Linked DNA regions of Homo sapiens: all the other regions are linked to region 4. Evidence: promoter capture Hi-C in human tissues and cell types (Jung and others, 2019). All regions are on one chromosome and are shown on one strand. Each heading gives the region's core, a stretch centred on a gene start or on the middle of the fragment in contact. The rest is flanking DNA. Distances are from core to core; before and after follow the strand shown. Region 1 has its middle 15 kb from the start of DLEU1-AS1. Region 2 has its middle 70 kb from the start of DLEU1-AS1. Region 3 has its middle 51 kb from the start of DLEU1-AS1. Region 4 holds the start of TRIM13 (tripartite motif containing 13). Region 5 overlaps LOC107984568 (a long non-coding RNA gene). Region 6 has its middle 110 kb from the start of DLEU1-AS1. Region 7 has its middle 100 kb from the start of DLEU7-AS1.

The links. Contacts are between HindIII fragments. The study calls those that stand out against the background at their distance.
Region 1: a contact is called between a fragment that was not itself captured here and the fragment with the promoter of TRIM13 in region 4, in 2 of the 25 tissues and cell types used here (dorsolateral prefrontal cortex and spleen).
Region 2: a contact is called between a fragment that was not itself captured here and the fragment with the promoter of TRIM13 in region 4, in 1 of the 25 tissues and cell types used here (lymphoblastoid cells).
Region 3: a fragment that was not itself captured here is called in contact with the fragment with the promoter of TRIM13 in region 4 in 1 of the 25 tissues and cell types used here (lymphoblastoid cells).
Region 5: a fragment that was not itself captured here is called in contact with the fragment with the promoter of TRIM13 in region 4 in 1 of the 25 tissues and cell types used here (hippocampus).
Region 6: a fragment that was not itself captured here is called in contact with the fragment with the promoter of TRIM13 in region 4 in 1 of the 25 tissues and cell types used here (dorsolateral prefrontal cortex).
Region 7: a fragment that was not itself captured here is called in contact with the fragment with the promoter of TRIM13 in region 4 in 1 of the 25 tissues and cell types used here (spleen).

What each region holds. Positions count from the first base shown.
Region 1 is chr13:50,540,457-50,544,695 of GRCh38, reverse strand. No RefSeq gene overlaps it. Among named protein-coding and RNA genes, the nearest start is that of DLEU1-AS1, 15 kb to the right of the region's middle. The HindIII fragment of the contact is 6,360 bases long and covers 1-4,239 here.
Region 2 is chr13:50,595,758-50,599,763 of GRCh38, reverse strand. No RefSeq gene overlaps it. Among named protein-coding and RNA genes, the nearest start is that of DLEU1-AS1, 70 kb to the right of the region's middle. The HindIII fragment of the contact is 5,382 bases long and covers 1-4,006 here.
Region 3 is chr13:50,576,382-50,580,269 of GRCh38, reverse strand. No RefSeq gene overlaps it. Among named protein-coding and RNA genes, the nearest start is that of DLEU1-AS1, 51 kb to the right of the region's middle. The HindIII fragment of the contact is 3,612 bases long and covers 377-3,888 here.
Region 4 is chr13:49,994,601-49,998,490 of GRCh38, reverse strand. TRIM13 (tripartite motif containing 13) reads right to left here and starts at 1,449. Exons shown (of 2, transcript NM_213590.3): 1 at 728-1,449. DLEU2 (deleted in lymphocytic leukemia 2) reads left to right here. Exons shown (of 14, transcript NR_152566.1): 11 at 1,072-1,417. MIR3613 (microRNA 3613) reads left to right here and starts at 1,990; the gene lies at 1,990-2,076. RefSeq lists silencers at 1,713-1,842, 2,433-2,482 and an enhancer at 2,023-2,152. The HindIII fragment of the contact is 11,924 bases long and covers 1-3,890 here.
Region 5 is chr13:50,679,616-50,684,006 of GRCh38, reverse strand. LOC107984568 (a long non-coding RNA gene) reads left to right here. Exons shown (of 3, transcript XR_001750074.2): 3 at 6-286. Among named protein-coding and RNA genes, the nearest start is that of DLEU7-AS1, 130 kb to the left of the region's middle. The HindIII fragment of the contact is 3,495 bases long and covers 759-4,253 here.
Region 6 is chr13:50,637,373-50,641,472 of GRCh38, reverse strand. No RefSeq gene overlaps it. Among named protein-coding and RNA genes, the nearest start is that of DLEU1-AS1, 110 kb to the right of the region's middle. The HindIII fragment of the contact is 3,566 bases long and covers 1-3,261 here.
Region 7 is chr13:50,701,739-50,706,079 of GRCh38, reverse strand. No RefSeq gene overlaps it. Among named protein-coding and RNA genes, the nearest start is that of DLEU7-AS1, 100 kb to the left of the region's middle. The HindIII fragment of the contact is 3,946 bases long and covers 1-3,664 here.

The DNA of each region.
Region 1 (4,239 bases), core at 571-3,070, 550 kb before region 4:
AAACCAATAATCTCCAAGCAGTGTCAGACAATCAGTTCATACATGAGAACCCTATTGGTCTGCTAGGAATAAAACCAACTCTCGCCTTGTTATTGAACAACTTTGCATAAAACCTGAACTGGGAGAATAACCAAAGAAGTAGAGTGAAGGCAAACACTAATGTCTATAAGAAAACTATTATTTTTGTAGCGGGAAAGGCTGCAAAAAGACACCAAAAGTGTGTTTTCATTGCACTTCATCAAGTCATTTAATAAACCTGCCATTCCTAACACACTACTGGCTACTTTGGAATTGTTTTCGCAGTTACTCAGCAGGAAACTAACATTTGAACTTACCAGTCTTTTGAGTTGCAAATTCAATTTTAAACTTTTTATTTACAAAGCCTCAAGAATATCTATCACTCCAGGCAGAGGAACGATAATAACATCAAGTTTTATGAATTATTACTTTCCAATCAAGGGTGACAGACTTGCTTATAAGAACAGGGTGAGACTTTTCATAAGCAGTAGAGTTCCATCCAAGTTCTCCTGATTCTATTTTGCCAAAGAAAGGAAAAGGATATTACATTTTAAAATAAAATTCCTCCAAATAAAATCCTACCAATGCTTAATGTCTGTGAGTTCTTGTGGTGGCTTTATGTTGTAAATGCTAAGGTTTCATATTACTTATATAAGCTTTAGTCTCCAATAGAGCTGGCAAACAAAACCCAAGAATGCTGAAACAGCTGTAGTACTGTATCTGAGTCATTTGGACGAAAACAGGCAGCGGGGCACGACGCCGGAGCAGTGTTCTCTCAGCCCACTACAACTCTTAGCTTTTCATTTCAGCTTCCAGACAAAGAACTAGTGATGGCTGCGAATCTCATGAAAACTCAGTGAGGCATACAAGTTGGATATTAAGGCAGGAACTTGCTAATATTTTTAAAGGGTCACTTCAAAGGAAAATTCCACGTTCTCAGAATTAAATCCAATTCCTTAGAGGCTTTGATTCTATTCTTGCAAAGGGTGAATCTTACAGATATCCAAACAGCCAGTGCCAGTCAAGAAGAGATGTATTTTAAATAAGAAAGCCACACAAGGATGGCTACAAATCCTCTACATTAAACTGCATTAGTTTTCACTTCCATTAATTCAGAGTCAGTTACAGAACTGGCCTGAAGTTTGGTAATCAAATCAAGGATAAAAAGAATTATAATTTAAATAGTTTAAAACAGTTTATTAGTCTTTTAAAAATAGGAGGATTTCTTCAATTATAAATCACTGACATGTTAATTATAAATAATGCTTAAAGAGTGGCACTCTAATTATAAATAAGGCTCATCTGTAGGTCTTCCAAGACCCCCCCCCCGCAAGGCAGCTGTTCTTTGCATACATAGTTCAAGTTACTCAGTGTGTGAGAAGGTGGTAAACTCTAGCTTTAAACACAGTTTATTAAAATGTGTGTCTCACAAATTGAGTTTGCCTCATTTCCATAAGCCTAAAATAGTAAAATGTTTGCTGTAGTCCTTTAGTGCACATTTATTCTCAGAACACCAACTCATCGTGGAACCTTAGGTAAGTTACTTAACCTCTCTGAGCCTAAATGTATTCCTCCAGAGAAATGTTAGTTTCCATTCGATTAATGAGTTAATGTATATAATGCACTTAGTAGAATACATGGAACAAGGTAGGCCCTTAGAAAATGATAGCTATTATTGATAGTAGTTGTAATCATAAAAATGGAATATGATAGATTCAGCTGATGTTTTAAGCCACTAATTTAGAATTTCTCCGATTTTTTGAGCCATAAATCTATAATAATTAAAAACGATTTTGACAAGAGTTCAAGAGGAAATGGGTCCCTTGTTTGCCAAAGGGACTTGGTAAATAAGGGCTGGGTATCAGTGAGGAAAGACATGTGAGTGAGGAGATCCACAAAGACTCAGACTGACCACCGAGATAAAATCACATTTCACCATGTCCCTGGCTGCCTTCTCGTCTACACTCCAAGTCTCCAGAAAATGATGGTCAACGTGCTGATTTTAATATGACAGCTTTGAAAGGCTTGTGCCCCTTCACCTCAATTTTCTGGAAACCTCATTTTTCTTAACTCTCCAAGGCAGCTTTCCAGCCAAGGAATCTATGAGCTAGTTGGGTAGAGCTAGTTAGGTTCTTAATCCAAAAGAATGTCAGGTTTCAGTGTCAAAAAGGAAGGGAATCTGAAGCCATTCTCACATGCATCGCTGTCTTTCATACGGGAAAGAAGGCTTTGGTGGTGGGTGCTATGAGTGTGTGTCTCTACTCAAAGGATTAGTGAGGGTCTTTTCCCCTTAAGTAATTAGAGAACAGACCTTTTTTATTAAAACATATCTCCTAGAAAGATATGTTTGGATATCTTTATTGAGCTCCTTCTACATGCCAGTTATTGCTCTACATTCTACTGAGGAAAGAGGAGTGATAAGATGTGGTTTTTGTCCTCCACTTACAAATGCAGGTACCATGTGCAGGACCTGTTGCTATTTGCAGCTCCAAGTCTTAGACCTATGGTTCTGCCCCTAACCTTCACCTAGAAAGAGATATCACAACCCAACATAGATCTCTGTTTTATGTTTTTCCTTGCTTAGGAGGAGCTGTATGATACAAATTTCCTTTGCAATAAAGATATTCATCTGACAGGCAGAGGTTTTATTTCTTAAAAGTGAGTTCAAACAAGCCTCCAGAGATCGGTCAAAAAGAAAGTTTACTTCTTCTCAATTATGGTATATATTTTAAAAGGGATTTTTCAAAATATAATTTTCCTTTCCTAAAAGTTCTTCCTCAGCTCTGCCACTTATCTGCTGTGAGAGATCCTGGCCAATTTGCTTACCCTCTTGTGCCTCAGTTCCTGCATCTGTAACATGGGAAAACAATAGCCCCTGCCTATAGGGCTGTTGTGGAGGCATAAATGACAAAAGACAGAAGTCTCTTGGAACAGTGCTTGGCATGCAGTAAGCATCCAATAAAGGTCAGTCATCATTATGATTGTTAATTTTCTTTTTCTTTCTTTTTTTTTTTTTTAAGACAGAGTTTTCCTCTGTCGCCCAGGCTAGAGCGGAGTGGCACGATCTTGGTTCACTGCAACCTCCGCCTCACGGGTTCAAGCGATTCTCCTGCCTCAGCCTCTCAAGTAGCTGGGATTACAGGCGCCCACCACCACACCCAGCTAATTTTTGTAATTTTAGTGAAGACGGGGTTTCACCATCTTGGCCATGCTGGTCTCGAACTCCTGACCTTGTGATCCACCCACCTTGGCCTCCCAAAGTGCTGTGATTACAGGCATGAGCCACCGTACCTGGCCATCATTGTTATTTTTCAATTACATTAATATTGGTTGTAGTATTCTCCTGCTAGGTTGTTAGGCAGACACTGTGATAGAGGGTCACAGAAGAGTGAAGCGGTTCTATATGTATTATAGTATCTCCTTAGTAGGCCACAGTGCCATTAAACCCTTAACCATGCTATGTAGCTTAGAAAATAAAACCACTAAGTAAGAGTATAAAAACTTTATTTTAGCCCCAGTTCTTCTATGCATTTGCTATGTCATTTTGGATAAGCCAATTGCTAGGATCACCAGACAAAAATACAGAATGCTCAGCTAAATGTAAATTTCATATAAGTAATATATTTTTAGTACAGTATAAGTATGCCTTATGCAAATGATAAAAAGTTATTCATTATTTACATGAAATTCAAATTTTGCTAGAAGACTTGCATTGTAATTTGTTAAATCTGGCAGTCCTGAGCTTCAATCTCTTTATAGATAAAATAATGATACTGAATTAGGTCAGTGTTTTCCTAACCCTACAGAACATTTTCTAGGAGACATGTTTTAATAAAAAGAATTCATTCTCCAATTAATTAGGGAAATGCAACAAGTTGTTGCCCCCTTTTAGAAATTTAGAGTATAAAGTAGTATATTGAATGTTACAAAAACCCCAGCAGTAAATAAACCTGCTTGACTTTGTTTAAGCCACATTCACTCAAAGTATTTCTTCTGTCCCTTTGCATTTATAAACATCTCTAGAACACCTTTTGGGAAATGAAAGACTAGATGATACCTAAGGATGTTTCCAATTCTAAAAGTTTAGGATTCTAAGGATCCAAGATTGAATTATGCAGTCTTAAAGTACCCCCCAAGAAACAAAATGTAAGCATTAATAATCTACTTAGTACAAGGTGTCATCCATACAGACAAAATTTCTGAGTAGAATTCAATACCTGG
Region 2 (4,006 bases), core at 1,291-3,790, 600 kb before region 4:
TGAGAGCAAACCAAGGTAAAAATGAAGACAGAGGAGAAGTGGGAGGGAGTCAGAGTACAGGAGCCAGCCTCAGGAGGATGAGCCCAGACTGGGCATCCCAGGAGTATGCATGTCCAGGGTGCAAAACAAGAACTAAGTTCCAAGGGTGGTACTAGAAGGGCATGAGTCTGCAAGAGAGAAGGAGGAAGGGAGACCACTTCAGAAAGAAAGCCTCTCCAAATTCTGCTGGACAGATCCTGTTCTCTGAAATGACCTTTCCCTGCTAGACTCCATCTCTAATTATCAAAAGACTGAAAACATTGAGCTCTTTCAAGGAAAATTACTACATTCACTTTTTCTTGGAAAAATGTGTTTAGATTCTTTGCTTTCTGAGCCAGAATATTGTTTAAACGACAGGATGGGATGTACTCTCACCCCATTCTCTACATTTCTATCCCTTGGGAGCCAGATGCTAAATTGTTTCCAGCCAGTTAATAATGGTGTGGTCTTGAAGCTCCCAGGGGACCCAGAGGAAACCTGCCTCCATTTCTAAGGCTCTGTTCTATGTGTTGGTTGCTGGGTAGATTCAGGTTAGTCAAATAAAGGGAGGAAATAAAGCATAGAAGTGAATTCGTCCACCGTACACCCCAACAGGGCAAAGCCACGAAGTTACCACCTGTCGACAACATACTTTCTGCTCCCACCCACCTGCATGTAAATGCCTGAAATGTGCAGTCACCTTAGTGGAAATGTAAAGGCCAGGCTGAGCCAAATGATAGGACACTTGCTTTAAGAGAGCATTCCACATGGTGCCATTGATAATTTTTCTGTTAATTTGGTCACTGATGCCATTAACAGACACTGTCTGAGGACCTACTTGATGTAGGCAACATAGTAGGTGTTTCAGAAGACACAAGGATGAGTCGTCCAAGAGCTATGCCTTGAAGGAATGCCCAACATAAGGCTTAAGGCAAGGCATGAACACAAATACAATAACCTAAAATATGTTATTTTTGGTTAGTAAGTATGTAATAATAATAGCTGTCATATATCAGCCCCTCCCCCTGTGCCATGCAGCTCAGGAGCATTATTGCTGATCATTAACAGCCACCTTGCCAAGCACATCACACATGTTTCATCAAGCGTGTCACACGTTTTGCAGACAGGGAGGCTTAAGGTCAGAGAGATTAACTTACTTGCTCAAGGTCACATGGTTAGTGTGTGACAGAGCCAGGCTCTGAACTCTAAAGCATGGGCTCTTAACACACAACACAGTGACTCTGACCCATTTTTTCTCTGTGAGATGGTCGGAACAGGTGCCCATATCATGGCAGCTCAGAGCAAGGAGAGAGAGCCTCAAGCTAGAGGAACTGAGAAAGGCTTTGTGCTCTTGAGCTGAGTCTTGAAAGATTAATAGGCTTTAGATGTGAGGAGATGAGAGAGAGAGATGGGGTGGGATGGAGAGACCTGGGAGGAAAAGGAAGCATGGAAAAAAGATATCCATGGGGAAAGCCTGTGTGGGTAGAGAGGAATGATCACAAGGTACAGGAGGTGGAATGATTCGGAAGCTGCAGGGGCAGAAGGGCAAGGGATGGGAGCCTGGAACAGCGGACCAGGATTTGAGAATACATTTTTTAAAAGCAATTGAAAGTTTCTGAGAAGGGGAATGACCCAGTCAAAGCCCACATTGAGAATGGTGGTGGGCAGATGGAAGGCGGAGAGAGGGGGAGCAGGGATGAAGGCACTGCATCTCCTGGGGTGAAGACAGCCAGTGGCAGTGGGACTTGTAAGAAGGGGACAGCTGTGAAGGTATTGAAGGAAGTAGAATCCACCAGATCAACAGCCAACGTGAGAGGTAAAGAGAAGGGACAGAGGCCAAGGATCTTTTTGTGCCTGTCTAACAGGGAGGATAACTACTAAAGTAGCCTCTAAATACATTTAAGAAATTAGTAAATTAATTAATAAATTACTAAATTAGCCTCTAAATTGGCTCTTTTTAATCACTGGCAGCGTTGTTTCTCAGAATGTTTTGACCTGTGGGCAATTTAAGTGGACCCAAGACCCTATTTAATCTCTATACTCTTGCTTATTACAAAAAAAAAAAAAAAAAAAAAGAATGAAGCTGTATTTATGAGACAATGAAATACATAAAATTCTAAAAGTAACTCGTGTCAAAAGCAAAAGACTAGGCACTGGGAAAGCATTAAAAACACGTACAATATGGCAGCTCAGGACCACCTGGAGAAACCTAGAATCACTAGTGGGCCCACGCTCCCATTGGAGAGGCCCCAATATTTACTCTGAGGCGAGTTGAGGTTGGTGGCAGTTAACACAAATTGAGTGCCACCATGTGCCACGTTTCGTTCTAAATGCAAATTCCTTTCCTGACCTATGTCCCCATCACCTACATCAGCTCCCCAGCCTCCTCTCTGAAGCCTCCCTACCCCACCTCATCCCAGAGGATCTTGCATGTAAGGCAAAGTGTTCTTTCCCACTTTATTTAAGCCAAGAGAGACACAGGCCCACACCAATCAGTGACCTCCCTGCTATTAGCTCTTGCCTGTGTTCCTCTGTGCATTGGTGAAGGAAGAAGCCCTGGGTCCCTATCTTATGATGTCCCAGCCTTTCCTTTGCCTGCACCAGCTCACAGTGGAGCCAAGCAGGGCTGTAAGTCTAGCAGACCCCTCACTGGAGTTGAGTAATTTGCAACCTTGCCCTGATTTAATCTGCAATCCAATTTGCTACTTACTCTCCCCAAGCTCTTATCAACGGTTTACATTTCCATGTGCCTTTTCTGTGCTGTATATCTGTGTTTTCAATTATGTCAGCCCAGGTGAATTAGCCTTCCATTGTTCAAGGTCAAACCTCAAGTTGTTATTTCCTGCCTATACAGCTAGTCCCTTTCCCCTCTATCCCTCTGGGGCAGTTTCTCAATTGTCGCTGGTGTTCCCAGATCCTATCTCCATCAGGTTTCATCTGTGAATTTAATTATGAAGCTATGCCCTATTTGGCTTATTTCACTCCATGGTCCAAACGTTTATTATGCATCCATTCTCCACAGGCACCCTGGTTCCACAGATATGCTAGGCATGCCCTCCGCAGCCATATGAAAATGAAAAGTTAGGAGTCCCAAAAAGGAACTAAATGCGCCTAATTTTGTTCATATTGTTGAGTCCCTTCACCTGACCAGCAAACCCTTTGATCCTGCACTTAGGCGCTTCCATGGCCACAGAGGGCTCTTCTAGCACAGGGATTGTACAGTTGTTAAAGCAAAAAGAAGGCAGAAAAGGCTAATCCAGAGCAACTCTTGAAAGCAGCCCCAAGGAGTCTTCCAGAAAAGCCTTGGTCTGCCTTCCTCCCAGGGGCTCAGCTCCAGCTGCACTTTACCTCTGCAGGTGGAGGCTCCCAGCAAGGCTCTGCTGAGGGCACTGCTGTGGCTCCCCTGCTCACACTTGGGGTCCTGTGGCTGAGTCTAGCCTTTCTTCCTCCTGCACACTGCCTGCCCCATCGCTTTGACAGAGGGGAGCCCCTCAAGTGCATCTTTGGAGGGGACAAGACACTGCTTGATATCCTGAAACATAAAGAGGCAGCATGCATCACTCAGCCACATAGCCCACATGTCACTTCTATCAGTGAAGCCTTTCAGTTTCCACCCTTGTGCTCCTGGCAAATGTGATGGCCCCGATGGCTCTTTGCTCAGTGTGATGGCCCCAGGCACCCTTTGCTCATCTTATGTTCACTTAAGTGGCTGACTGTCCCACGAGTAGAAGCCGGGAGCAGGAGCCACAGTATCTCAGTGATCTTTGTGTCCTCCACCTCTTACCTAGAACATAAGAGGTCCTCGGTAAGTTTATCAAATGACTCCCTGAACAAATGCACATTAGGGAATGTAAATCTTCTTTTCAGATACTGCTCTTGTCTCATCCACCAGTTGCCTTTAAGCAAGTCATTGGTTTTCAATTTGTGTGTGTGTGTGTGAACAAAAAGCTTCTTCACACCAAGTCTTACTTGGAAGACCCTGGCCCCC
Region 3 (3,888 bases), core at 933-3,432, 580 kb before region 4:
TGAGGAAAAATGTAGCCACACTGTTATTACTTACAAGGCCATGGATCTTCAGAGCCTATTTATATGGAAATATTCTAGATCTTCTGGCCCCTGCATTTATTTGATGCTGATGATACCATAACCAGGAGGCTGCACCATCCATGTGAATACTGGCTTCCAATGTCTCTTTCCAAGATTGCTACTGTGCTTGGTTCATGGATGATGACAACAAATGTAAATCTTACCCAGAGTATGTATGCAAATGTAGACAACAATTTGTTTTCTGGTCATGTTAAATTTACTGTTCAGAACCTTATAGGGTAAATGTAGAACAACACATCTTCCAGCCATATCTTCTGCATTCTTTAGGCTGTAATCCCTGCATTCCTGCAATGTGATCTCTTTCAGTGCCGGCTGTATGGATGCTTTCCACACATGACACCAACAGGGAGGTTAGGAGGGTCCTATGGTCAGAGTGATAAGAGTGGTCCCACTCACGCACGGATCATCCTTCCCTCACCCTCGGCAGCTTAAAACTGACCTGAGAGAGCCTGATGTCACTACATCGGGTGGACCCTACAAGAGAGGGCATGGATTGATAGGGTCACTTGTAATTTAGGAGTGATTGTCTTGAAAGCCCTTGAGGGAGACAGGCACAGCCTTGCTCAGGTCTAAGAATGGTACTGGTCGGGGGGCAAGTTGGCCCTCTCTCCTGTCTGTAACGCAGCCTTCTGTGCTTGTGGGGAGGAGCGATGGGCACATATCCACCTCTGTAGAGTTAACAGCTCTTTCCCTCTCATTAAATTGCAAATCTGCCAAGCAAATCTACCATGTTCTGAGTCTTCAGAAACACAATCTCGGGGCTACACAAAATTTGAGTTTGGTTTTTCAAATGAACGCAAATTGTTGCAAATAACAGAAGTGAGCATTTAGAAAGCAAGAGATACTGATGGCTAAAGATTGGCTCTGTGGATTTATAAATGCTTTTTGAGAAAACATCGAGTTAAACTCAGACCACATATGGAAGGTCAAATTTCACGCTCTCACCTGATTTTAACAACTTGCCTTCACAACCTTGTTTTCAATGTTGTGGGAGAGAGCAGGGAGGAAAGTCACATTTTTCTTCCGTTTGTCAGTTTTATGTCTTTTTCTTCTTTGTTGACTTATGGTTCTTTGATGTTTATTCTGGAGATTTATCCTTAAATTAGCAAAATCTGGTACCAGCATTGTTGCTTACAGGAAGACAGTACATGGATATGGCCTGAACCTTGAACTACAGTGAAGACTCTTTAGTTATGACCCACAAAGCAGACTCAATGACCATCATTCTTTGGTTTTCCCCAGTGGTATTTTTATAAATCTTCATTATGAGAAAATATGGAGGCTTGTTGACAGGTTCGAGAAAAGAGGAATCTAATTTTGATATAATTCTCTTCCTAAAATATAAATCTGGTATAATTGAGTTGATCAATGCTATAAAATAGACACTATCATCTAGAAATCCAAAATTGTCTTCAGAAAAATACGTATCCTTAGTTTCAACAATTCATCTAGAGAAATTTATAGCCTTTAAAAGACATTAAATTGATCAGAACAATATATCTCTCTGAACACCTCAAACACTCATAAGACATAAAAAACAAAATTTAATACGTGCTGTGTGCCAGACATGGTGTTAGGAGCTAAAAATGTAGAGGAGAAGACAACAGACATGGTCCTTGTCTTCATGAGAGAGGGAGATCAAACAAATAATTATACGAGTGACTGCAGAATTACAATTGTGATGAGTATTGCAAAGAAAAGTCCCAAGGGCTACGGAATTAGAAGAGGAGAGACTAACATTTTCCAGAGGTCAAGAAAGGCCTGCTGGCTGGGGGGGAGTGGTTATTTATAGTCATTTAAGCTGAAATCTGAAAGGACAAGAAAGAAGTAGCTGTAGTCCTCTTGAATAATGGATTTTTATTCCCCAGAAGTCTTCAACACTTATTTTTGTGCTATTTTCTCTTATCCCTTCCAAATTTTCACTCAATTAAGATACCTCTAAGTTGGCACATAGTTGAAGAAGAGGATACAACTCTTAGTGGGGCTCCATTATCAAGATTAATTATGATAAATTATAAATTATCCAGACCCTAATCCTACTTCCTAAATCTAAGCTTGTCCCCATTTCTTGCTCACCAGCATTAAGGAAAAGTAATGGGACTCACAGCTTCTGCCTTACTGTTGGCTCCCACATTGCTCATTAATCACACTAAGCTGTTGAACTGTTTAGACACCTTTCCAGGTGACTTACAACAGCACGTCCCTTACGTCTGTCAGTAATGTTTCAGCTCCACAGTAATTGCAGTGTTCTCTGTAAGACAGTTTGAGAAATAATTTACTCAAGTGTGATTATTGTGTTTGGGTAGAGATCAACAGGGAGTAGAAAAAGAGACTATGTTAAAAATCAATGATGCAGGTCTCAAGTTCCAAAGTTGCTTCTCCTTTGGAACATTTTTAGGAGAAATACATTCCCATATGCCTATTATACATGGCCTTATCCTCTTTGTCTCTTGCTTGTTACTTTTATGAAAACCCAATGGCACTTGATTACTCCACCAGCCATCTTGAATCTCCAAATGCCTTGTTCAGTCAAAGAAAATCATTTTGATACATTCAGCCAAAAATCATTTACTGTATCAGAGACATTTTTCAAGGTCAATTTTGGGATCTCCTGCAAGTTTTCATATGTGCATAGATTATAAAAATTAGATTAGATTTTTATAATCTATGCACATATGATAGGTTAGATCTCTATAATTGATACACATATGACTAATGAAAAAATACTATGAATTAGGCCGGGCACGGTGGCTCATGCCTGTAATCCTAGCACTTTGGGAGGCTGAGGCAGGTGGATCACCTGAGGTAAGGAGTTCGAGACCAACCTGGCCAACATAGCGAAACTCTGTCTCTACTAAAAATACAAAAATTAGCCAGGCATGGTGGCAGGTGCTTGTAATCCCAGCTACTCAGGAGGCTGAGGCAGGAGAATCACTTGAACCCCAGTGGGGCAGAGGTTGCAGTGAGCTGAGATCATGCCACTTCTTCACTCCAGCCTGGGTGACAGAGTGAGACTCCATCTTAAAAAAAAAAAAAAATACTATGAATTAGTCTCTGATGGCCACACTCTAAGTTTGAATAATTTGCAGCAGAGATGCCTTAACTTCCTCCATATCATGAGCTGGTTTTGCCCATTGGGAACACTGCCTGTCCATGTGTCTCCAACATCAACATAGCAGGATTCAAACTCCATTTTTGATTCCTTTTGTTCTACATTTTGTGGGCTCGTGGTCATATCAGTCATGCCCTTCTGAGATCCCACGTCAGATCCTAGCCAGGGAAGGGACTCCTCAGTGTAAGCTATCAGCCTTCACTTCCCAAAGCCTCTCTCCCAGCCCCTGAGGTGATAAAAAGTGACAGTTCTTCCAACAGGCCAGCTACAAGGGTGTCCAAGAATACAGAAAGAATTTCCTTCATCTGTGCCCAGGGTTGTCCATCTCTATCACCCTCCCAGGTGGGACGTTCTCAAGAAGCCTCTTCCATTTTGGCTGCATGTAGTTTATTTTGTCCAGCATTTCAGAGGTGTCTCCTGCCTCTGTCCTCAGCCTGGAGAACAGACTCAGCAGAAATTACACGGTTTTTGTTTTTGTTTTTTTTTTTTTTGTCCTCAGTTGACCTCCAGGGAAACTAGGACAGCGTGAGGCAAAGAAGGCAAGGTCTCTCAATAATGCACCAGTGGTCAAGGCTGGCTTTCAGTGGCGCCTCTCCAAACAGCCAAAATCGGTGTCAAACCACCAGCCTGTGCAGCCTTTCCAAGATGCTCCAGCTGTTTATTCAGCCACTAAGTGTTCTGCCCAAAGTGGACTC
Region 4 (3,890 bases), core at 200-2,699:
GCATCAGTGTATCAAGCAAGAAAAGGTTCTAAACTTGAACTGTGATTTCAAGGCAAGGCAAAACAAATATTACATAAGGTATCAGGTACAAAGCAGTGTCATGAAAATGAGCATATCTGAACAAAAGCTGTGACAGAATTAAGGCCAGATAACCTATCATAAATGTATAGAATGAACAGAACAGCCCGGTTTTAGGAAAGGACTTCCCAGGGAGGTTTAGTAAGCCAGCTGGGAGAAAGGAAAAAAAACGTATTTTTAGGGAGGGATAGGGACGCTCCCATTGTGCAAGAAGGAAGTATAGCCGGTTAACAGCTCCATCAAGTTCTACTAGAAGGAGTGCCTATGTAAATGAAATTCTGCTTTTAAAGTGCCTATTATATAAAGGTCTCTAGAAAACTCAAGCCCTGTTCTACAAGCCCTAGCAGCCTGACAATTCACTAAGCATAGGAGAAGGGAAAAAAAAGTAGGAAAAAAGTGTGGAAGCCCCTTTCTTCCTTTGTAATATGAATGTTTGGCTATATTTAAGATAAATACCACATAAATAATTGCTAAACGTGAATTCTGTTTTTCTAAGTTTTAACAAAATATGCAAAGAACAAAGACCACCAATGAAAGTGGATGGGAACATACGTATTCTACACACAGTTCCATTTTGGAAGGTTCTAGGGCCTATTGAAATTGGGTGTTTAAAAAAAAAAGATAACACAGGAAAATTATTGTAGTTTACCTCTGTCTCCTACAAGCTGATGTATTTGGCAGGGTTACTATTTCCCAGGGCAAAGCAGGTCTTTTTTTTCACGTTTTGACTAACGAACTAGAGGCTACTGCAAAGAAAGAAGAAAAAGAACAGTATTAACGCATTTATTTGCACAGCACCCCAATCTTGACCCTCAATTTTTTCAATCGCCCCCACAAATAAAGCCCGGCTGTTTAGACCTGGTGAACCGCCAGGAGCCTGGAGCTCTTTGTATTAAGCAGCTTCTCGGTTAGGGCGCCCTCCCCCGGCGCCATGCAACCAAACGCTGGCGGCGCGCTGTAACCTAAGGCCCACACCCGTCTTTTCTTTTCTAGGGGATGTGGAGACGCTGGTAGCGGGGCCAGGAAGGCTCCGGACGGAGCAGGTTTTCTGGACCACAGACACACTGCCCCGGCGCCCTCCGCAGGCCGCTCCTCCCCAGGCCCATGACAGTGCCCCGCTGGTTTCTGCCGCGCTGCCGGACTGGAGCTCAGACGGCCTTCGCCAGCCCCCCCAACCCACGCAGATCCCTGCTGACCTGGGCAACTCCCCACCCTCGCTGAAGGTTCGAGGACCACCCCGCTTTCCCGAGAGGAGCCGGGCGGCGGGTACTTATCTCCGACCTCCGGCTAGTGGGAAAGGCCGCGCGACCGCCCGTCCTCCAACTACAGGGACCGCACGGTACGCGCCAAGCACAGCCCCAAAATGGACTCGCGGCTCCGGCTAGCTCCGCCCCCTTCCCTCTCCCGCTTCCCCTTCCCCTCCCGTCCCTTCCCCCTCCCCTCCCGTCCCTTCCCCCTCCCCTCCCGTCCCTTCCCCCCTCCCCCTCCCTTTCCCCTCCCCCTCCCCCTCCCTTTCCCCTCCCCCTCCCCCTCCCTTCCCCGTCGCCCGCCTCCGCCTGCACCTCCGGCCCCGCCTCCCCGTCCCGCTTCGCCTGTGTCCCGCCTCCCCGGCCGCGCCTCGCCTTGGCGGAGGGAGCCGGGTGGTGAGACCGCGTTCCTTCCGGCGTCTCCAACCGCCGCCTGCTCCCGCCGTCCACCCGCGCGGGCCGCCTGGGACGGGGAGGGCCGGGCTGCGGGCTTTTCTCCCTTCCAGAGTCCTGCGCCCGCCCAAAGCCCCCCCGCAGAGGCTGGGCAGCGGCTCCGGGAAGTGGACGCCGTTTGCCCAGACGGTGGGCTCGACTGAAGCGGCGCGGTCCCGGGTGGGGCCGCCCGGGAAGAAAGTCTCCCAGTTAAGCTGCCGTGCAATTAAGATGGTTGGGTTTGGATTGTTGTACTTTTTTTTTTGTTCGTTGCATTTTTAGGAACAAAAAAAAAAGCCCAACCCTTCACACCACTTCATCCGCATCTCAAGACCAGAAGCCGACCCCAGCGGCTTGGGGAAATGGAGCCCCGCACCCCACAAGGGGGAGGGTGGGACGGGCACCTCCGCACTGCGCGGCCTGCGGAGTCACCGATTCGCGTTGGGAGCGCGCCAGGAGCGCCAGGGCTCTAGCCGGGGGCTCCGGGCAAGGCGCAACCAGAAAAGGGTTCAGTATCCCCCATCACCCCCACCCCCAACCGTACCCTCTTTCTTTGCGGGCTTTAGGCAGGACACCAGAGACCCAATTCTATTTAAAATTCTCTTTTAAGAAAAGGAACGCCTGTTTTTGCCTTTGGGGGAAAGGATGAACTTTCAAATTGGCTTTAAATTATCCACCACTAACAGTTACTCAGTCGATAACCTGACTATTCTGACGTCCACCTCCCGTTTGAGGACCTTGCCCAATAGCAAACGTACTAAGCACTTAACCAGTGAACGGTGTGAAGGATGCAAACATGGATGATGAAGGAATGGCTCCTCCAGAATTTACGATCTTGGGAGAAGTGAGGCGAGTATAGAATCTCAGAACACGCTGTAGGATTGAGTTCGATCCCAGTTGAGGAAGTTTGGGTTTGGGGAGGAAATAGGTTATTTTGGAGAAACGGTATTCAAAACCTACCATAAATAGCAGTACAGCCCGTTGACTAATAATGCTTAGCCCAACCCCCGTAAAAAGCCCCTGGCCACATCCGTCTCCTGAGATTCCCACTTCTCTGTGTGCATCTCCCTTCCTGCTATAAGAAACCTAACTTTGCCTTCGTAGAACACTTCTTTTAATTTCTGTCATTCAGTCTCATAACACTGTGTAAAAGAAATTATGATCTTCATCCTATATAGATGAGAAAACAGGTGAAGTGACTTTTCCAAGGTACAAAAGCAAGAGGCAGAGCTGAGGCTAAAGGCAGCTTCCAGATATGGGCTCTTTCTACAGCACCATAACTGTCAGTGACAAAACTGCACCCCAGTACCTTACTAAATTTAGTGTTTTTAGGCCAGGCACGGTGGCTCACGCCTGTAATCCCAGCACTTTGGGAGGTCGAGGCGGGCAGATCACCTGAGGTCAGGAGTTCCAGACCGGACTGACCAACATGGTGAAACCTGGTCTCTACTAAAAATACAAAAATTAGCCGGTCATGGTGCCGTATGCCTGTAGTCCCAGCTACTTGAGAGGCTGAGGCAGGAGAATAGCTTGAACCCGGGAGATGGAGGTTGCAGTGAGCCGAGATCCTACCACTGCACTCCAGCCTGGGCAACAGAGCAAGACTCCGTCTCAATAACTAAATTAATTAATTAATTTAGTGTTTCTAAAAAAACAAAGTGATCTGTAGAAACATCTCATTTATTTGTTGTCATTGTGTGTTGATTGATTTTGAGACAGGGTCTATCTCTGTCCCCCAGGCTGGAGTGCAGTAGCATGATCATGGCTCACTACAGCCTCAAGCCCCTGGGCCCAAGTTATCCTCCTCCCTTAGCCTCCCAAGTAGCTGGGACCACAGACATGCGCCACCACGCCTGGCTAATTTTATTTTTTGTAAAGATAGAGTCTCACTATGTTGCCCAGGCTGGTGTCAAACTCCTGGGCTCAAGTGTTCCTCAGGCCTCAGCCTCCCAAAGTGCTGGGATTACAGGCGTGAGCCACCACACCCAGCCATATGGAAACATTTCAGATATCCTAATATTAAAATGATATTTCACAAGACTGGACAGTTATTAACTCATGTGAAAGGAAAATCTTGGGGCCCCAAAATCACTAAGCTAAAGGAAAAAGTCAAGCTTCGGAGAACTGCTTAGG
Region 5 (4,391 bases), core at 1,257-3,756, 680 kb before region 4:
TTAAGGGAAGGGAGAGGTCAAGCATGAGAAAGACTGATGTGGAAGTAAAGAAACCTGAATTCTTGACCCCGCCCTGCTACTAGCCAGCCTTCTGATATCAGGTACACTTTTATTTCATGTATTTATCAAGCATCCAGTACCTAGCCAAGCATAGTACTGGCACTTCAGGAACAACACAGATGAATAAGAAATAGGATCTGTTTTTAAGAAGCCCATGGGGAAGCAGACCCATACATAAAATCTAAGCCACAAAATATTGTAGGATCTACTATGTAGGGTGCTTGAGGGTAGGTCCCAGGGGTCTCCAAGAAATGCATGATTGATGGTAACTGGTTTGCGGAGGAAAGGATTGGCATAGGCTCACCTCAGTCTTCCTGTTACCATAACAAAGGCAGACTGCAGTATCTATAGCATCATTCTTCTAGAACTGTAAGTATCTCTGAATTTATGTAATTGGGGAACCACAGCACAGAAATGATGGGTATTTTCCCATAGTCCTATGAAGATTTTGTGGCAAGGCCAAGGCTGGGACAGAAGTATTGGGACTCCTGAAACAGTGCTCCTTCCATCAGCACTAATTCAGTCTCGGTGCTGAGTTGCCTTACAAAGTTAATTAATTCAAACACGTCTGCTTATTTTATCCAAAACAGAACTTGAAATATCCACAGTGGTTCTCAGCTTGAACCTAATTTTGAACAAAGAGAAAGAACTGTTCTGCAAACCCTCTCCATTTTTCTCACAGCACATGATGAGCACTGGGGCTCTTTGCAGAAGTCCCTTATGGTAAAAACAAAACAAAACATAGTGCTCACTCCAATAAACTTGCAGTCAACCCTAGCCCAGAAGCAAAATCCCGTGCAGAGAATACAATCCCTTGTTCCTCACAAATCTAAAAGGGAAAGAGATTTGTGAGTAGAGCTTTCAGCTATGCGAATAGACCATTGTTCATCAGGCATCTCATTGTAAATTCTACTTTAAAACTTGTTTGTTTCCACTGAACCCCTGAATTTTTTACTTGTGTACCTATTTGTAACAAAAAGGAGAATTCCAAAAGCACAAAGGAAATGTAGAGGATGAGAAAGAGAGAGGGAGAGGGGAAGTGAGGTGGGGGGCGGGAATTGAACTGTGGAGTTCAAATGAACCTGTAGCTAGTGACATCTGCACTTATCTAACTCGGGTTTGGCCACACCCTATAAAAATGCACATTGAAGAGTTTAATGAACATTGGTTCCTTGTCAGATTAGCAAACTTTTCACTATCTGACTGTAATGTTTCCAATGCTTACATCTCAGAGGCTCAACGTTGAGGGAGACAGAAATCATAGGAAAAAAGAGCAATTACACAGTGTCTCAGTTGCTCACCCTCTGGGTTCCAAGAACTCAGCTAGAAGCTGAGGCAGATCCATTCATTGTGCTCCCAGATCTCTTCTCCCGGTTTTAGTTGAGCCCATGGCTGTCCAGGTAACTACTTCATTTTCTATCAGCTCTGTAGCTAGATAAAACCAATGACTAGATTCTGACCAATGAGATGTGACCTGCAATGATGTACTCCACTTGTGGGTCTTGCCCTTCAAACAATTGGGCATACATTCTCCAGATCATTTATCCCTTCCCAGTGTCTGTAAAACAGCAAGAACAAGCATTGTCACTTTGGATACAGAAATGGAAGCCATTTGTTGAGGATGTCAGTAGTGCCTCCCCATCAGCTCTGAACCATTCACACCTGAGTGGTAAAGTGAGAAAGAAAAAAGTTTCCAACTTATTTAAGCCACTATACCCTAGGGTCTCTTTGTTATAGCAGCTTACTTCAACCCAAACTAACTACCCCCATGGTGTGGGGTCAGAGTCTGGCCAAAAGATGCATTCATGCTTTTCTAGTGACATAGACTCACCCTTTCTCTTTGTCATTGACAGTGGGAAAAGCAGAGCTAAGCCAACTTTCAATACCACATGTAGTATTCATTTCTAGATGTCTGTCCTAAGGAATGTTGAAATTAGAAAAAAAATCATGGTATTATTTATAAAACTAAAAATTGGACTCAATCAACTTGACTAATAGTGGGATAATAAATTATAATATGGGCTATCTATTTACATTTTATATTATTCCACAGAAGAATTAAAGTGTGCCCATTGGGGGAAAAATCATGTTTCTGGAGAGAGAGAGAGAGTGTGTGTCTGCATGCTCCCCACTGGCTTTATTTAGTTTGCAACCAGATGACTCTTTTATTTAAAAGTCTTTTGGCCTTTGTTGTTTTGATCACAGCCAGGCACCATTATTTAATGGTGTACATTTGAAACCATGACTCTCAGTTCATTGACAATGTCAGTAAGATGACAGATAAAAATAAGAAGGCCCACTGGGGCTATTGCATGAATACTGATAAAAAATGTAGAATCATAATCCCTACAGCTAAATTTCCCCACTAAATCATAATAGATTATAATTTTTTGATTTGCTAGTTTTCTAAGTATTTAAAAACTATCTTTAGTTCCAGACTTTAACCACATGATGTTTAGAGTAATCCACCCTGTTGCTTGTCTACTTCTTGCACTGAATAGATTTCTCCTATTTTTTTGAAAATTTCAAATTTTTAAAAAAACTTTTTATTTTGAAAATTTCAAACCTACCAAGAAGCTGAAATAATATAATGTACCCTTTTCACCTAGTCTTATTAATTGTTAAAATCTTACAAATCTGCTTTATCTCATTCTTTCTATCTTTCTCTGCTGAATCATTTGAAAGTAATTTTCAGGCATCATGTTTAATAAAATGAAAATGATCACAGTATAACATCAATTGAGAAAAAATGGTTATCTATGAAAATGCTAATTATAATCATTTCTGAATGGTAAGACTGGGTGATTTTTCCCCGTGTGTTCCAAAGTTTCTAGAAAAAAAGCTTGAAACTTATATTTCACTGAACCAATAATTCTATTTGGAAGTTTGATTAAAATTTGCTACCATTATATCTGTTGCAATTATTTCCATTTTGTGAACACAGATAGTACTACATATAGTGGCAGAAGTACAATGAATATTATTAAATCACGAGGATGGTAGTATTTTTACACCAACCAAAACATGACAATTTGTATCTCTTCCATCTAACTAAATAGATATTCCCATTGTCTTTCAAACATGCCTCAATAGGCCCTTTGGGGCTCATGGTGGCCCCTCTTGAAATGATTCACCCACCTTCTCTCTAACACCCTCGCTACTTAGTTTTGTGTAAGACCAATATTATCTGCAAGGAAGCTATAATTGATTTTGCTCAAGATGAAGTCATGTGCCACATGCTTTTCCCACAATTATAGGAAAGTCTTTCTCTAAAAAAGTCTGTTCACTTGGTATTTTGGTGCACAGAGAGTTTCTCTAATAAAATGTTTCCTTAATGCTGACTGCATATCAGAATCACCATCTCAAATATGTAGTGGTCTCATCCCAGACCTGCAAAGGCACTGTGTGTGTGTGTGTGTGTGTGTGTGTGTGTGTGTGTGTGTGAGAGAGAGAGAGAGAGAGAGAGAGAGAGAGAGAGAGGGAGTTGTATTTGTTTGTTTTAGAGAGAGACTATTTATTCTTATAAAGCTCCCCACGATGCTGACGTATACACAAGTTTGAGAACCACTATCCTAGACACACACTTGTCTTCTCCTTTCAAGACTGAATATCAGAAAGTATTCAATAAAGATTTGCAAAATGAATGAGTAGATGAATGCCAGTTCTCAGGACATCTGAACCTTTCCTAATCACTAATGTTGACTATGCAGAACTACAAAAGTGTTGCTTAAGTCACCTTAAGTCTAAACCAGTAGTTTTTTACTTCAGTATGCCCAAGAATCACTTTCAGGGCTTTTAAAAAAATACATATCCCTGGGCCCATCTGCAGAGGGTCATATTGAGTAGGTTTAGAGTAGGGACCAGGAATCTGCATTTTTATTAGCACTCTAAATGTCTCCTGCAATGACATTTTTTGAAAAACACCACATTCAAATCATGGGTAGAAGATGCTGTAGCACAGTTTGAAACAAGTCCTACTATCCAATCCAAATAGATCACTGGCATTCATAGATGTGGTCACATTACTAGTTAACATTTCGTCTAAAATTTTATCGAGAGTAAAGAGCCTGGGATGCTGGCTCAATTGATGCTCTGACTGGTACTGTGGAGTTCCAGTGGCCATTTATGCCTCCATCCCTTACTATCTGGTGCCTGTCCCTGGGGCTGTCTTCAAGTCAGGTGACATCAAAAAGAATGGAGGTCAAATCAGGTAGTTCTAGCCAGAACATTTTAGTGAAAAGAAATAATTACAAAATCATTTTTCTTTTATAAGGTATACATGGATTCCTGCCCCATCCCCAAAGTAGAATAAAGATAGGAAAATACTGATG
Region 6 (4,100 bases), core at 229-2,728, 640 kb before region 4:
CTGTAGATTAGTTCAGCTACTATAGAAAGCAGTTTGGAGACTTCTCAAATAACTTAAACAAAACTAATATTCGACGCAGCAATCCCATTAGGATATATATCCAGAAGAAAACAAATTGTTTTACCAAAAAGACACATGCACTTGAATGGTCATTGCAGCACTACTCACAATAGCAAAGTCATGGAGTCAACACCTGAGTTGCCCATCAGTGGTGAATTCGATACAGAAAATGTGGTACATATACACCATGGAATGTTACACAGCAATAAAAAAGAATGAAATCATGCCCTTTGCCACAACATGAGTGCAGCTGGAGGCCATTATCCTATGAAAATTAATGCAGGAACAGAAAACAAATACCACGTGTTCTTACTTATAGCTGGGAGCTAAACATTGGGTACCCACAAGACAGCAACAATAGACACTGGGGACTTCTAGAGGGAGAAGGGAGGGAGATAGGCAAGGGCTGAAAAACCAACTATTGGGTACTATGCTCAGTACCTGGGTGATGAGATGATTCATACTCCAAACCTCAGCATCATGCAATATACCCAGGAAACAAAGCTACCCATGTACCTGCTAAATCTAAAGTAAAAGTTGAAAAAGAAAATAAAGACATTAAAATACCTTCTTCAGAATTAGTTATTCCCCATTTTTCTACTTTGAGTCTATTTATTATGGAAAAAAACATCACTAGGACCATTCTTTTTTTTGGAAGGTATTTGTCATCTGTCATAAATCTGTATGGCTGGCTTTCAATAGGGACATTAATTTTAAAAACATGAATTATCTATTTGATATTCTTCCTATTCACCATTCTCTGCATTTGGAATACAAATTATGATGATTTAGTCATCCGTATTCTTTTTTTTTTTTTACCACAACCAGACAAGTTTGCCTAGAATTTTTTCTCTTCATTGGAAAATATTTTAATTTAGTACAACATAAAAATATTTGTCAAGTTGTATTTCAGAAAATCTTGAGGCAATTTTCTCTTGTTTGTCTCAATTCTGCCTGACATTCATTGTGCCCTTCAAGCAACAAGATAAAAGAACAATAGATTTTTAAAATAAATAAAAAGCTTTTCATTGTTGATGTTGATTTCTGTTGTCTTATAGAAATAGGAGGTCATAGAAGGCATAGTAAGTGGGGAAGTCAAAAGATCTTGGTCAAGTCTGCGTTCTATAATTGACTGTGTGACCTGGACAATTTGGTAAATTGAGCTTCACGTTTCTTGTCTGAAAATTAGATAACTGGTCTAGAATCAGTAACCCTCAAACTGTCTATTATTGTGAAATTTTATTTTAAGAAAAAAAAGATTAAGTATTGGAGGAAAGGAATCTCCAAATTTAAGGCAGATAAAACCAGAACTGCCCTGTAAGAGGTAAAAAGAAGCCTATTCAACTGCCTTTTTTCATTCTGTGGTGGCCTCTGCTTTCTCTGAGGAGACCTGTTGTTTGAAATGCAGCCAGGAGACCACTGGCCTAGAAGATATCCATGTTTCTTTCAGCTTCAAAGGTTGAGATTCCACTCGAACTGAGCTAACAGAGCTTAGATATGTGTTTACCTGTGAAATAGAATCTGACCTCAAGAAGCTCCTCCACCCAGCTAATAGGTGGTTTGGAAAGAAAAGAAATCACATAGGTTAAGAAGGAAGGTATTAAAAAAATAAGTTCTAATTTCAAGAGAAAAAATAATTTTAGATAAAAGAATATAGGATCAGGAAAAGAAGGTGTGATTTGAGGACAAGGGAGGTAGAGAACATTTTAAAAAGTAAGCACAAAGCTAGCAGCCATTATTAATAAATTGTAAAGGCAAGTCATCCTATATTTTTTTCTGCCACAAATGACACCATGGATGACTGACGCTACAGGTTCTAACTATGTTCATAAGGTCAGGGCTGCCTGAACTCCAAGACAGCAATAAACAGACCAAGAAAAGCTTCCAGGAAAGTTGAGGGCAGGAAAGATACACTTTCTTCTTCTTGTCTGCCCTTCTCCCACCCAGCCCCTATCAAACTCGACGCAAGATTCCAAATTCAAGATGTTTCCAAATGACAGGAAAAAGGAGATCTTCTGAATCAATTTGAAAATGAAAGATAATTTAAATTATTCAGAAATGCTTTCAAGTTATTCCAGAAATATGTTAGAGCACTATGTGATGAAGCAGTCCTGATAGCCCACTGCGTATGTCTCCTAACTGAGGGATATTAAGTGCTATGTCATAAAGGACTGAAAGCTGCACCTCAAACATGATGCAGCTTCCTGTTGTGCCCATTTTTGTGATGGCAAGTTATTTAAAAAGCAATTTTTTATCTTTATATAATATGCATATTATTATGGAGCAGAATGCAGTATTTACTTTTTTTAAAATATTCAATTGTGAGACTTTAATGATATCTAGCACACATGACAGGTTCTCACCACTGTGTGCCCTCATTCACTCTCTTCCCCATTAGGCATATGTCTTTTGATGGCACAACATCAATGATACCCTACCCCTTCAAGGGATCTGGTATGTCTGTTATAGAAAGCAAACCTCTCTAATGTAAAACAGTTTGAGGGCAATCAGGGCAACATCATATACACAAAGAGAAATAATCAATTGGATCTTTGCATCTATCACATGTTCAACATGTGTTCTCAAAATAGGAAGAATTTTCCAGCATGTAATCATCCTTTTGGGCATTATCAGACTTTTAGATATCACAGGAGTAACTTAGCATTTCTACATGTAAAGATTTTTATCCATTAATTTCTCATAATTCTATAAAGCAAAATAAAAAATTTATAAAAAGCAATCCCAAAGCATAGAAAATAAAATGGAGCCTCTGAGCTTAAATCTAAATGTTGTCACTTGGAATAATTCTTTTCTTTGTGGTCAAGCCTACCTTGGTTGCCAACTTGACTCAAAATAAAAGAACTATTTCAAGTGATTTTAAAATTCAGTAACTGGTATGTTCTTGCCACTGCACTCCAGCTTGGATGACAGTGAGCCTCTGTCTCTGAAAAAAAAAAAAAAAATCGGTAATTGGGATATATCCTACAGTCAAAACAACTACAAAAAAAAAAAAAGAAAAGAAAATCTTAAACTGTTTTCAGAAATCATAGTGTTGGTAGTAGTTTTGGTATTGTTATTCTAAAACTGTTTCAGAGACATGGTAAGATAGAAAAAATGGGTGGGTAATTATATGATATTCTAATTCCATCAATCCCACTGTCATAGAAAACTTAGATACTTAGCACAGAGAAAGGAGATATAGATGGAAGATAAAAAAAATAAGACTCTACAGAACTAAATTTGCACTGGAAGTCTCAATATGAACTCTCAATATATTTCATGCTAAAAAAAATCCCAAGAAACAATGAACAACCTAGTAACAATGAATGCTCCCAGTTTCTAGACTGTGGCCCACATACCATTTTTCAGTAAAAGAAACCAAGATTCTCAAGAGAAATATGATTCTAGATCTGAAATACACAAGATGAATCAAATGATTCAAAAGCCAACTCAAATAGGCTCCCACTGGCCAAAGATGTGACATTTATGCATTCAAAAGAACAAAGACGGCCGGGCGCAGTGGCTCACGCCTGTAATCCCAGCACTTTGGGAGGCCGAGGTGGGTGGATCACGAGGTCAGGAGATCGAGATCATCCTGGCTAACACAGTGAAACCCCGTCTCTACTAAAAATACAAAAAAATTAGCCTGGCGTGGTGGCGGGTGCCTGTGGTCCCAGCTATTCGGGAGGCTGAGGCAGGAGAATGGCGTGAACCTGGCAGGCGGAGCTTGCAGTGAGCCGAGATCATGCCACTGCACTCCAGCCTGGGCAACAGAGCAAGACTCCATCTCAAAAAAAAAAAAAAAATAGCACAAAGACTGCAATTAGCTAAAAGATGCAAAATATATTTAAATTCATGACTTCATAATTTTTTTAAAAAAACTCAGTAGTTATCTTCAAATATTTTTCATTATTGAAAACAGACAAATTAAGGGAGAGAATCAAGCACCTATCCTGTCTTCCCCATTAGAAACAGCTCTGAATAACATAACGGTCAATCAGGGAAAGTTTCTCTTTATAGAAGTTATTATTCTGGCTAAT
Region 7 (4,341 bases), core at 442-2,941, 710 kb before region 4:
GTGTTTGAAGACAGCTGTTGAGAAGCTGTGAACCAAGCCCAAGGACCCAAACAGACAGGGAGCTGAATCTCATACCAGAACAACCACCACATTTATATGAGAAAAGTTAAATATGGTTATTCTGAATGAAATTTGCAGGTACTTAAAAAAATTATAGCACCAACCTTGCACAGAACATATGGGAAGCTATTCGAGGTAAAGAACCAGTTTTCTCTAACATGAACATGATCTTTTGCTGCACTATCTGGTGCTACTTTGATCTAAAGAGAAGAGCCACAAAGAAGGTAGCTGTACCAGGAATGGGGACTATGGTATGTGAACAGCTGTAATTGTAAAGCTGCCAGCTTCAGTCCAATGGAGAGAGTAATAGTGAATTTCCACTGATGTGTCAGGCTTTATTCTAAGCATTTTACATATAGCAACCAGTTAAATATTTATAACAACCTTATGGTAGAGGTATTATCATCATCCATTTTGTACAAATAAGGAAACTGAGGCACAGAATACTTTAGATTATTTTGCATCCCAATAGCCCACTCCAGAGCCTGGACTCTTAAGACTTCTTTCTGTTCTGCTATTCTCTTTTAATAACAACCCCAATAGAAGAAGGATTGGGCCGGGCATGGTGGCTCATGCCTGTAATCCCAGCACTTTGGGAGGCCAAGGCGGGCGGATTACCTGAAGTCAGGAGTTCAAGACCAGCCTGGCCAACATGGTGAAGCCCCATCTCTACTAAAAATACCAAAAATTAGCCAGGCGTAGTGGCGGGCACCTATAATCCCAGATACTCGGGAGGCTGAGACAGGAGAATCGCTGAGCCCGGGAGGCTGTGATTGCAGTGAGCCGAGATTGTGCCATTGCACTCCAGCCTGGGCAACAAGAGTGAAACTCCGTCTCAAAAAATAATAACAATAAAATAAATAAATAAATAATAAAAAAAGAAGAAGAATTGATTTGGATTCCTTAGTATTGGATGTGTACATGATGCATGGTAGTTGTATTTTTCTCTGTCGTGTGTGTGTGTTTGTGTGTGTGTGTGTGTTGTATCTGCGTTTCTTAGGCAAATTATTAAGCAAAAGACTCAGTTTAGTCTGAAGCTAGCTGATCAGACACATAACCGAATATCAGGAGGCTTAATCAGTGGCACCACTTGCTACTAACTGGCTTTATAGTTAGATCTCAAGTGCTCATTTCCTCATCTATGTAAGAGGGGGTTGGACCAATCACCTTCTCATTTTCAAGATGGGTAAAACTACAGCTGTGTCACCTTCCAATAGGACTGAAAGTTTGGGAAGTGAGGCAATTACCTCCCCTGCCCCTAGTACTATCACCAATCAGCTGCCATAAAGCCAAATCTTAACTGAGGGTGAATTCTTTGGTGGTTTAAGTGAGTTTGAGAGTTAGACTAGACACTCTGACCTCTCTCCATAGGAACCTAGGAGAGACCCTGGTTTCTTCCAGGCTGTATGGTGAGTGAGCAACCATTCAGGGTGGCTTCTATTCAATAGAAGGATCTGTTTCAGCAATTTCTAAAAGTTAGCCACTTTCTTCTCTTTAGGATGTGACTTGATTTGACCAAAGTTTCTACAAGGCAGCCCTCTAAGCTGCCATGGGCCTCCTGCAGGTATGGCCTGAGATATAGTCTATGATATAGACCAAGGCAGTCTGTAGAATCTGGAGTTAAGCATCTTATTATCATCTCCTCAGTAATCAATTTTATCAACCCAGAGATTTGACTAAAGAGAGTATGGAATGCTCAGGTGTGGCAGACCAACCTGACTCAAGCACACATTCTTTCTAAAGGGAAACAGAAGAAGTTAGACACATGACCTCAAAGCTCAGAAAGTGAGCACTTCTTACATCTATTGCTGTAGAGAGCTGCACAAGAGGCATCATCAGCGCTTAAGTAATTTAAGGTTCATTCTGTAGGACACATTTCTAGAAAAGGAATCTGGGTAAAAGAGTACTAAAATGTCTAAGCTTTTGGTTCAAGATGTCTTTTCTAACAATAGCTGTTGACTGAAAAGACTAAGAAAAGGTGGCACGTGGCTCAGCACATGCTTAGCGGCTGGAACAGAAGCTTCAGCTACACACCTAGTTAGTGATGTATGATGTATCTGGCTCTGTCTTTTGCTTCCCTGGCTTCCCTTTTTTTAAAGTCAGGTTTTTCAAGGTATAATTTATATACAGTAAAATTTACCCTTTTTAAGTGTGCAGTTTGATGGATCTTGAAAAACACATACAGTTGTGTAAGCACCACCACAATCAAGACCTAGAGCATTCTCTCTGCACCTTTGTGATCAGTCCTCTCTCTCCATTCTCAGCCCCTGGCAATTACTGTCCCTATAGTTTGCCTTTTGTGGCATGTGATTCATATGAAAGGACAGAGCAGGTGGTCTTTTAAGTCTGGCTTTTTTTCACTTAGCATTATGCATTTGAGTTCATCCGTGTTGTTACATATAGCACAAGTTATTCTCTTTAATTGCTGTCATATTCCATTGTATCAATGTAACAGAGTCTGTTCATTTATTTACTGGGCGGTGGTTATTTGGGTTGTTCGTAATTTTTTGGAGGTTGTGAATAATGCCTCGCAACATGAAGATGTTTTATATCTCTCGGGTAGATACTCCAATGCTTTATGTTTTCATTTCTCTTGGGTAAATATCCAAATGCTCAGTTGTATAAGTGACATTCAACTTTATAAGAAATTGTCAGACTGACTTCTTAAGTGGCACTTAGCATTACCACCAGCAATACCTGAGAGTTCCAATTACTCTGCATCCTTATCAGCTCTTGACCTTGCCGTTTTAAAGTTTCTATTGTTAAAAAGAGGTATGGCAGTATTTCACTGTTTTTAATTTGCATATCCTTAATGACGAATACTGTTGAGTGTCTTTTCATTTGTTCATTTGCCTTCCACATACCTTCTTTGCTGAAATGTCCAAGTCTTTTGGCCATTTTTTATTAGGTTGTTAGTTTACTTTTATTATTATTTGTCAGAGTTCTTTATATATTCTGAAAACAAGTCTTTCATAACATACGTATTTTGTAAATATTTTGTCCCAGTCTGTGGCTTGTCTATTTATTTTTTTTCTTAACAGTATATTTCAAAGAACAGCACTTTTTATTTCAATGAAGTCCTACTTAATTTTTGTGTGTGGCCTAGCTAAGAAAGCAGCACTTATCGATGGTTGCAAAAATCTCTTCCCTATCTTTTCCTCTAGAAATTTCTTATTGTTAGGTTTTACATGTAGGCCTATGTTCCAATTTGAGTTGATTTTGTATTTGAGGCAAGGGATGGGTTGAGAATCATGTTTTTGCATATAGGTATCTGTTTCGCTGACATCTGTTGAAAAAAACTATCCTCCATTGAATTTCCTTTGTTCCTTAGTTGAAAATCAATTATCCTTATATTTGTGGATTTATTTTGGATTCAGTTTAATTTCATTGACTTGTGGTGACTCTTTCACCAACATGCATACTTTTGACACTGTAGCTTTAGAGTTAATTCTTTAGATTAACTTTGTTTTTTCTCCAAATTCTTTTCACTAATCTGTTTACTTTGCTTTTCCATAAAAATTTTAGAATCTGCTTGTTGATTTCTACAACAGATCTTGCTAGGATTTGTATTGAGGCTGCATTGAATCTACAGATCACTTTAGGAAGGATTTACATTTCTGGCCACCTTTTTTTTTTTTTTTTTTTTTTTTCTGACAGGGTCTTGGTCTTGCTCTGTTGCCCAGGCTGGAGTGCAGCAGCACAACTACTGCTCACTGCAGCCTTGATCTCCTGGGTTCAAGCACACCACCCACCTCAGCTTCCCAAGCTGCTGGGACTACAGGCACATGCCATCATGCCTAATTTTTTTTTTGGTAGTGACAGAGTTTCTCCATGTTGCCCAGGCTGGTCTTGAACTCCTGGGCTCAAGCAACCCACCTGCCTTGGCCTCCCAAAGTGCTGGGATTACAGGAGTAAGCCACCACCCAGCCCTGGTCACTTTTTGATCCTAACTTATTTCTTCTACCTTGGCTTATGAAACCAGCCACCAACGTGCCTGTTGTTATTGCACAGCTTGTCCTCATGATTGGATCTGCACTGGATGTTAGCTGTTGGTAAACAATTCATACTGACTTTAACCCTACACGACATAGTATCACCTGGTATACGGACCCAGGTTTTTACCATCCCTTTAACGAGGTCTTTGCAGGTAACTTTGTAATGTCCTCCTACTGTGGATAAGGTAACCTGCTCCACCACTTGAAATTGGGCTCAAAATTAGCTTTGTCCCATGGAATTTAGGAGATATGACACAACAAAAGACTTGAAATGGTCTTGTGCATT